Linked DNA regions of Homo sapiens: all the other regions are linked to region 3. Evidence: promoter capture Hi-C in 16 types of primary human blood cells and fetal thymus (Javierre and others, 2016). All regions are on one chromosome and are shown on one strand. Each heading gives the region's core, a stretch centred on a gene start or on the middle of the fragment in contact. The rest is flanking DNA. Distances are from core to core; before and after follow the strand shown. Region 1 overlaps HECTD1 (HECT domain E3 ubiquitin protein ligase 1). Region 2 overlaps HEATR5A (HEAT repeat containing 5A). Region 3 holds the start of EAPP (E2F associated phosphoprotein).

Region 1 (2,700 bases), core at 18-2,517, 3.4 Mb after region 3:
GAGTCTCGCTCTTGTTGCCCAGGCTGGAGTGCAATGGCGCAATATCAGCTCACTGCAACCTCTGCTTCCCAGGTTCAAGCGATTCTACTGTCTCAGCCTCCTGACTAGCTAGGATTATAGGCATGGGCCACCATGCCTGGCTAATTTTGTATTTTTAGTAGAGACGGGGTTTCTCCATGTTGGTCAGGCTGGTCTTGAACTCCCGACCTCAGGTGATCCACCCACCTCGGCCTCCCAAAGAGCTGGGATTACAGGCGTGAGCCACCGCACGCGGCAACTTACACCACATATTTAAAGAGCTAGAATAAATGTGACGGTACTTACGAGAATGACTGACATTTAATTTCATGTTTTATGTGGTAAAGACATTTATTTATTCAAATAAACCCTTTGACTATATTGCTTTTAAGATTCTATTCCTTGAATTATTTTACTGCCAAATGTATTTATGTAGTATCATGCCCTAATTGCAAATCATTGTAATCAAAACAGGTTTACAGCGACCTAAAATTCATAAATACCAGTAATAGTTGAGATATCAACTATTATTGTTATACTGAGTTGAATAGTAGTGCCATTCAACTCAGAAAATTTCAAGTTTTCTTTTTAGGCATCTTGATGATACTTATTAAAAAGTTGTTATTCTATTTCCTGTAATTGTTTTGGCCTTGATGTATGTGACTTGATAAGAAGAGGCTAGTTAGAGATGTGTGAATGCAGTTCTTTTTTCTCAGGATGGAGTCAACTGAAGCAATTGCATAGGGAAATTAGAATCTTTTTTTTTTTCCCAAGATACAATGGCACAACAGTTTTAATACAACCACCAGTCTTCAAAAAATAATTTTAATACTTTGTGCCTGTACTAGCAGCATCTTGCACTGTGACATTCCTATACATACATAAGCATTTTATTGAAGTACAAATGTTAAAAGCAGAGTAACTTAAGCAATTGCCTATACAAAGGTAAATAGACACTGTGGGTTATTTTTCTTCTCGATTCATTTTTGCTGCATAGTAAGTTGCAATTACATGTCAGTATAATAATGTTACTGATCTATAAAATATATTTGAACCGTGAGGTATGGCACCTCCCTATGAGAGAGTGCTAACATGTACATCTGAATATTTTGAGTGTTTTTTGTTTGTTTGTTCGTTTTAGCTGCCACAGATGGGAAAAAAAAAAATCACCTAGCCTAGAAATCTCAGAGTTTAGCGTTCAAGAAAGGCCTATTTTTGCTAATCTGACAAATGTAGAAATTTAGTTTTGCCTAATCAACATGGCCATTCCCATCAAGTTATGCCTTTGAGTCTCTATGTCAGAGAGGGTTCTTAGCTTTCAAATACTTAAACCAACCATTTCTAATGATGGATAGTCATTACTGACTCTATTTTTTTTTTTTTTTGGTTTATCTTTTGGGTGTAGAAGGAGTTGAGAGAGTATGTTTTTTGGGCCAATTAATATAATACAAAAGTTACTTTTATTTGAGATTGGGCTATGTTTTTGAAACTTTTCCTTTTCTCACACATTTCTGTGTAGCAGAAGAGATAGTTAAATGTTGGTTCTTCAGAGATTATTTCAGCATACAGAAAAAAATAGAGGCAATTGAAAAATCTCATCTAAGCTACTTATGTAGATTTGGGGCAGTCACTTTTCCTTTCAAAGAACACATATGCAGATAATCCCCACAGGTAATTCAATATTATTTCCCTCTGAGTGCTATCATAAACATATGAACTTGGTGTAAGTGTGGGTGAGCATCTGGGTGTGTGGATGGGTGTGTATGTGATCTTGGGCCCCTTTTATGTATGGGTAAGAACTTTATAAAGGCTTGTTATACTTCTAAAAAAATGTTTTTTATGTCTTATGTTTTTCCCTGAAATAGTTAGCTTATAACACTAAAATAAGATTGTAAAATTTCTATTAATTTGCTTTTAATAGACAATTTTTTTTTTGCTTTTGGAAGTTAATTACCTTTTTAAAAAAAGAATATCATTTTTCTACTACAAGTAAATATATAGATTGAATATCATTATGCTCGTTAATTCTGTACATGTTATTAGCTTTAGCAGATAGTTCTAATAAAAGAGTTCAGTATGCTCTTTAAATTTTTTTTTAGAATTTTCTGTGTTTATTCAAATTTATTGAACTTAATTATTTAATATAAGAGAACCAAGGAACCACTGAACTTTGAGAACACAACCGAAATGCTAACTTTAGTGTTTTATTTGAACTAGTGACTAAAATTTCTATGGCAATATATGAATATTTTGAGAGGTTAGCCCAAATTGTAAGAAATTAATGGTAAGCTGGCATGTTTTTGTAGAAAAAAAATTTGACTACACATAATTATATTTAGCAGTTTTAAAACTTTTACCTAGATTCTGTTTACTTGCTGAAGTGGCAGTATTTTACCATGTATATCAATCTTTTAAAATTTCTTAAACAGTTCTTCCATTTAAGAAGTAACCAAGCCAGGTGCAGTGGCTCACATCTATAATCCCAGCTACTCCAGAGGCTGAGGTGGGAGGATCGTTTAAGCCCAGGAGTTCAAGATTAGCATGGGCAACGCAAGACCTCATCTCTAAAAATCAAATAATTTTAAAAATGAAATATAACCCAGTAGATTTAAACATGACCCTTACATTGCTTTTAAATGTCATAGACTGAATAGTTCAGAAATAAGGGAAATAAAAGGAAGA
Region 2 (2,728 bases), core at 131-2,630, 3.1 Mb after region 3:
AAAAGACAAGAGAATGGGGGATATTTTTCAACAGTTATCCTTACATATCCTAAGATCTTTTTATTCCTATTTTTTCAGCTGTGACTAATTTCTAATTTAAATGTTGTTTCAGTGCTGCTGTGGTATGTTTGGGTTCCTTGTACAAGAAGTTGGGTAGAATACTGGGTAACACCTTTACTGATACAGTGGGGAATATTCTTAAAGCTATGAAGAGTGCAGAGGTAAGTAATTACAAGTTCAGCCAAAGAATGAAAAGACAGCATTTTATTGGTTTATGCTTTCCTGAGCAAATCAAAGAGCTTTACATATGTCAAGCATATGTAGATATGAATATAAATGTACCCATAAATTAATATTTCTAGGTGATGCACTGTATGTACTCTGTATATTGAATCCCAGTTAGAAAAATAGTAATGCAGTAGAATTTCATGTATTCATATAAATCCAAGCGGGCGAAAACTAACGTATTCCACTTACAGTCCCATCCCTACTCTCTCCTCTTACTCCATCTTTTCTATTTGATAGTACTTAACTGGTGCCAGTGCAACTGCTTGTCACCAGGGACTACATAGTTGATAAACATTGTATACCTTATGGATAGATGAGTTACTGTACTAGCATCAGAAGGTAGTAAGGAATATAATCTGAGGGGAAAGAGTGTAGAGGATGTGTGACCAGATCCAGATGACCTTTTAATTGCCAAGGGAGTATATTTTCAACTTTATCCTCATTGAAATATTTGTGTCACTTACTCCTCTGGAACACCCTTTGTTTTTGAGACTGTCTCTTCATTTGACTTTAAGATATTAAGATACTATAATCTCTTGCCAGCTGTGGTTTTACTGGTTTTGAAATGAAAGCATTTATATGTTTGTTTAGCAAAAGGTTTAAATCCGTGGTCCCTAATATGTAAGGACAACTTAGCACCTTTAAATATAAAAACATGGACATGGTAGTTCGCACCTGTGATCTCAGCTACTTGAGAGGAGATGGGAGGATCACTTAAAGCCAGGAGTTTGAGACCACCTGGGCAACACTGGAAGACCCTGTCTCTACAAAAACATAAATTAGTTGGGGTATGGTGGTGAACACCTGTAGTTCTAGCCCCTCGGAAGACTGAGGCAGGAGGATCACTTGAGCCCAGGAGTTCGAGGCTGTCGTGAGCTATGGTCATGCCACTGGACTCCATCCTGGGTGACAGAGCAAGACCCTGTCCCTTTTTTTTTTTTTTTTTTGAGACGGAGTCTAGCTGTGTCACCCAGGCTTGAGTGCAATGGCGCGATCTCAGCTCACTACAATCTCCGCCTCCTGGGCTCCAGCAATTCTCCAGCCTCGGCCTCACAAGTAGCTGGGATTACAGGCGCGTGCCACCACGCCTAGCTAATTTTTTGTATTTTTAGTAGAGACGGGGTTTCACCATGTTCACCAGGCCATTCTTGAACTCCTGACCTCAAATGATCCAGCTGCCTCGGCCTCCCAAAGTGCTAGGATTACAGGCATGAGCCACCATGCCCGGCCCAAGACCGTGTCTCTTAAAAAATATTTATTTAAAAAAAAAAATCTAAAAACATCACACTGGTTACTCTTGTCACTTTATTTACAAAAATAATCTAGAGAACAGCCCTGAAGTAATTTATAGAAATGTTGGAAAGTCACACACACATTTTTAAAAAATGTAACAAGGCAAAACATGGGAAAATTCCAATAAAAAATAGGTTAAATTTTAAGAAGGACGTAGCTGATTCAAGAACTTTAAGAAGTGAAGACTCTAACGTAAAACTGATGAGAAAATTTGCTCATCAGATCACTTCTCAGCAATAGTTTCCTAAAAGATTGAAGAAAATGATTAAGGAGAACAGATTTTTTTTAATACCTGTAAGTCTGGTTTTATTTAAAAGCAGATATCTGTAAGAAATTTTATTTACTAAGATACAGTCATTTTAAACTTTCTTCCTCCTAATTCCACTGGTTAAGTTCTAACACTTTTTAGGCCCCTTGGTTAATAGAGGATTACTCTATAGTTATGAAAATGTTGTAAGTTACTGATAAGTATATTGTTGCTCCCCTATTTTTTAAATTTTTTTAACTAACATCCTTGAGCCATATTCCCTACTTTTGATCTTTGATTTAGTTGATCAGGTATCACAACATTTCAGAGATGTCCACACTCACCAGTGATACACAACATTTGGAACTGGAATAAAAGAAAAGTTCTGAAGTTGCTCGTTAGCATTATTTTATTATGTTCACCTATGACTTTTAAGTGCCTTTAAACAAAGATAAATTAACAATATTACTATGAAATGATTCTTGATGCTGATCTTTGTCTTCCTCCAACTCCAACTTCTCTACCTTCAGTGGCCCAACTTCCTGGGATATAGATATGATTTGAGGCATTTAGTAAAACATTAATAAAATAAGCAGCTACTATTTCTTTTTCTTTTTTTTTAAAGACAGGGTCTGGCTCTGTCACCCAGGCTGGAGTTCAGTGGTGCAGTCTGTACTCACTGCACCCTCTGCCTCCGATTGTACCCTCTGCCTCCCACTGCACCCTCTGCTTGCCAGGCTCAAGCCACCCTCCCACCTCAGCCTCTCAGTAGCTGAGACTAAAGGTGTGCACTACCACGCTCCCACCTCAGTCTCCTGAGTAGCTGGTTCTAGAGATGTGCACTAACACTCCTGACTAAAATTGTATTTTTTGTAGAGTTAAGGTTTCACCATGTTGCCC
Region 3 (2,700 bases), core at 75-2,574:
TGTTGTTCTTTACAGCAGACCTCTTTCCCTCTACATACCAATCTATCCACTCGCATAACTACTAAGTGGCTCAATGGCCTATGTCTCATGCTTAATTGGCTGAGCTAGGCGCGGAATCCGGGAAACCACAACAGACTGTACTCTGCTCCTGTATTTCAGGAATAACTGTCACTAACCTGCTTCTGTCCGATTCCACCTTCTATGAAGTACACACAGAGGAGCAGTTCATTCTTTTGTAAAGGGATTGGTGGACTTTGTTCGAGATGCCATTTCAAAAGAAATGAGAAAAAAGAAAAACTAAGACCTGCACTGTAAAGCATAATACAGGAGTAGATTTATTACAGCTACTCCACATTTTAGAGAGTGCCACAGTGTCTCGGTAGGAGGCAGGAACCCGAGTTCCTGGTTCAGAAACAGGGTTAGAAACAGTCTCCCGATGGAGCTCAAGTGGCTGTCATCTGCCTGTTCTCCTCAGGTATCGAGTGGGATCAGTTGAGGGCTGAGCAAAAGTGGGGACTGGGAAGATGACGAGAAAAGATAACTTTTCGTAGATTGTTGAGGCCGCAGTCAGACTGAGGAGTGAACAGTGTGAAGGAGAGGTTGAGAGCCTCATGGTGTGGAAGGCATAAGGGTTAGAGGCGAGGTTGGAGGGATGTGGGTGCTGGTGTCTGAGGACTTATTGGATTTCGGGCTGTGTGTCCCTCAGCGTCTAGATTCCTGCTTCGTAGGTGATGAGACGCTGCATGTAGCATGTTCACCTCAGAGACTGTCACTTATGAGGGTGCCCATCATTATTATTTTTGGTGACAAGGTAGCTGCTATTTTCCTGTAAGCAGAAGCTGCGGAAGAAAATGGTGGGATTGGCCGGGAGCGGTGGCTCACGCCTGTAATCCCAGCATTTTGGAAGGTCGAGGTGGGCGGATCACCTGAGGTCCGGAGTTCGAGACCAGCCTCAACATGGAGAAACCCCCGTCTCTACTAAAAATACAAAATTAGCCGGGCGTGGTGGTGTATGCCTGTAATCCCAGCTACTCGGGAGGCTGCGGTAGGAGAATTGCTTGAACCTGGGAGGCGGAGGTTGCGGTGAGCCGAGATCGCGCCATTGCACTCCAGCCTGGGCAACAAGAGCGAAACTCCGTCTCCAAAAAACAAAACAAAACAAAAATGGTGGGATTAAGACCCGCCCCCGTCCCGTCCCCGCCCCTTTTCGCTCCTGCTCCGCCCCTTCCCCGCCTTCTACCTGCCTCCCTCGGTGCTGTCGGTCTGCGCGGGCGCGCAAGGGGGACTGGGACGTTCAGGCGGAAGTGGCGTCAGGGGCGCTTTAGGGACTGGACTTGCAGTGTAAACAGAGACGCTGCAAATTGCTTGTGGACGGTGTAGGCCGCTGCAGGCCACCATGAACCGGCTTCCGGATGACTACGACCCCTACGCGGTTGAAGAGCCTAGCGACGAGGAGCCGGCTTTGAGCAGGTGGGCTCCCGCCCCACCCTGGCCCCCGAGGATTTGGGTCGAGGCCTGGCTTTGGTCGCCTCCATTCGTTGCGCCTGCCGAGCCTACGCAGACCCTAGCGGCTCGGGAGCCTGTCGTGCCTGTTACTTGTGCGAAGCCAAAGGGCTTTCCTGATGGGGTCGCGCAGTCCCGGGGGGAGGCGGTGCCGATGTCGCCTGTAGGAAGAGGGATATTCCGGAATCACGGGGGACCGCGTGTAAATCTTCAAAAGCAATGAGATCGAAACCTGTCTCTACACCTTAGTAGCAGAGTGACGGAAGGCAAGTCAGTTATCCTCGATTACTCACCTGTAAAATTGAACTATAATAACATAATTGTATAACCTATATAACATAGTATAACACACTATGTTTGTTGTGAGGCTCACAGGACTTAATGTGAAGTGTCCATCTTGAAGACTAAACTGCCATAAACAGAAATAAGGGAATATTGAACAGCCTTTTTTATTTTTATTTTTTGACAGGGACTGTTGTATGCTCGCTCTGAGCTACAGAGATAAATCATAAGGTCCTTGTCTTCCAGAGGCTTATAGTATAATAAGGGTAATAAGATAAAGTATATATTTCTTGGCAGAGCATTGTAGAGAATATTGACCTGAGATAGGCACAGAAGAAGGTTCGTGGGATTTCCAGAAGGGTGGGCTTTATTCTACCAGGGAAACTTGAAGCTGTTTTGCCGAGATATTTCCACACAAATTTAGTTATTTCTTAAGCTGTCAGCAGATCCTATTCTTAAACTTTAAAACATTCATTCTGCCTAAAGAAGCTTTCTGTAAAGCCATGCTTTCATTAACAACTTTGGCTGGGTGTGGTGGCCCATGCCTGTAATCCCAGGACTTTGGGAGTCTGAGGCGAGAGAATCTCTTAAGCCTGGTAGTAAAGGAACAGCCTGGGCAACATAGTGAGACCTCATTTCTTAAAAAAAAAAAAAATCAAAAGAACAATGTTTCCTCATATTGTCATGGGGAGACATTGGATGCATGGGAAATCAGACTGCTGTTAAGATTTCTTTTGTTGGGAGTGAGGATAGATACCAGGATTCCCTGTGAAAAAGAGTTTCAGTTAATGGGTCCTGTCTGTGAAAGGAGGTATGTATATATGTATGTCTCAATTATTTATTTATTTATTTATTTATTTTGAGACAGAGTCTCACTCTGTCAGCCAGGCTGGAGTGCACTGGTGCAATCTTGGC

The links. Contacts are between HindIII fragments. The CHiCAGO score rates a contact against its expected background, and 5 or more counts as called.
Region 1: a contact is called between a fragment that was not itself captured here and the fragment with the promoter of EAPP in region 3, in 1 of 17 cell types (M0 macrophages). The highest score is 5.0, in M0 macrophages.
Region 2: a contact is called between a fragment that was not itself captured here and the fragment with the promoter of EAPP in region 3, in 1 of 17 cell types (M1 macrophages). The highest score is 6.0, in M1 macrophages.

What each region holds. Positions count from the first base shown.
Region 1 is chr14:31,129,732-31,132,431 of GRCh38, reverse strand. All of the region lies in intron 24 of HECTD1 (HECT domain E3 ubiquitin protein ligase 1), which reads left to right. Among named protein-coding and RNA genes, the nearest start is that of HECTD1, 77 kb to the left of the region's middle. The HindIII fragment of the contact is 3,591 bases long and covers 1-2,700 here.
Region 2 is chr14:31,396,166-31,398,893 of GRCh38, reverse strand. HEATR5A (HEAT repeat containing 5A) reads left to right here. Exons shown (of 36, transcript NM_015473.4): 4 at 113-221. Among named protein-coding and RNA genes, the nearest start is that of HEATR5A, 23 kb to the left of the region's middle. The HindIII fragment of the contact is 3,802 bases long and covers 1-2,728 here.
Region 3 is chr14:34,538,325-34,541,024 of GRCh38, reverse strand. It overlaps EAPP (E2F associated phosphoprotein), which reads left to right and starts at 1,324. Exons shown (of 6, transcript NM_018453.4): 1 at 1,324-1,470. The coding sequence starts at 1,397. It overlaps LOC105370447 (a long non-coding RNA gene), which reads right to left and starts at 1,276. Exons shown (of 2, transcript XR_943739.1): 1 at 1,241-1,276; 2 at 1-839. RefSeq lists a silencer at 1,147-1,246 and enhancers at 1,387-1,546, 1,197-2,121. The HindIII fragment of the contact is 15,759 bases long and covers 1-2,276 here.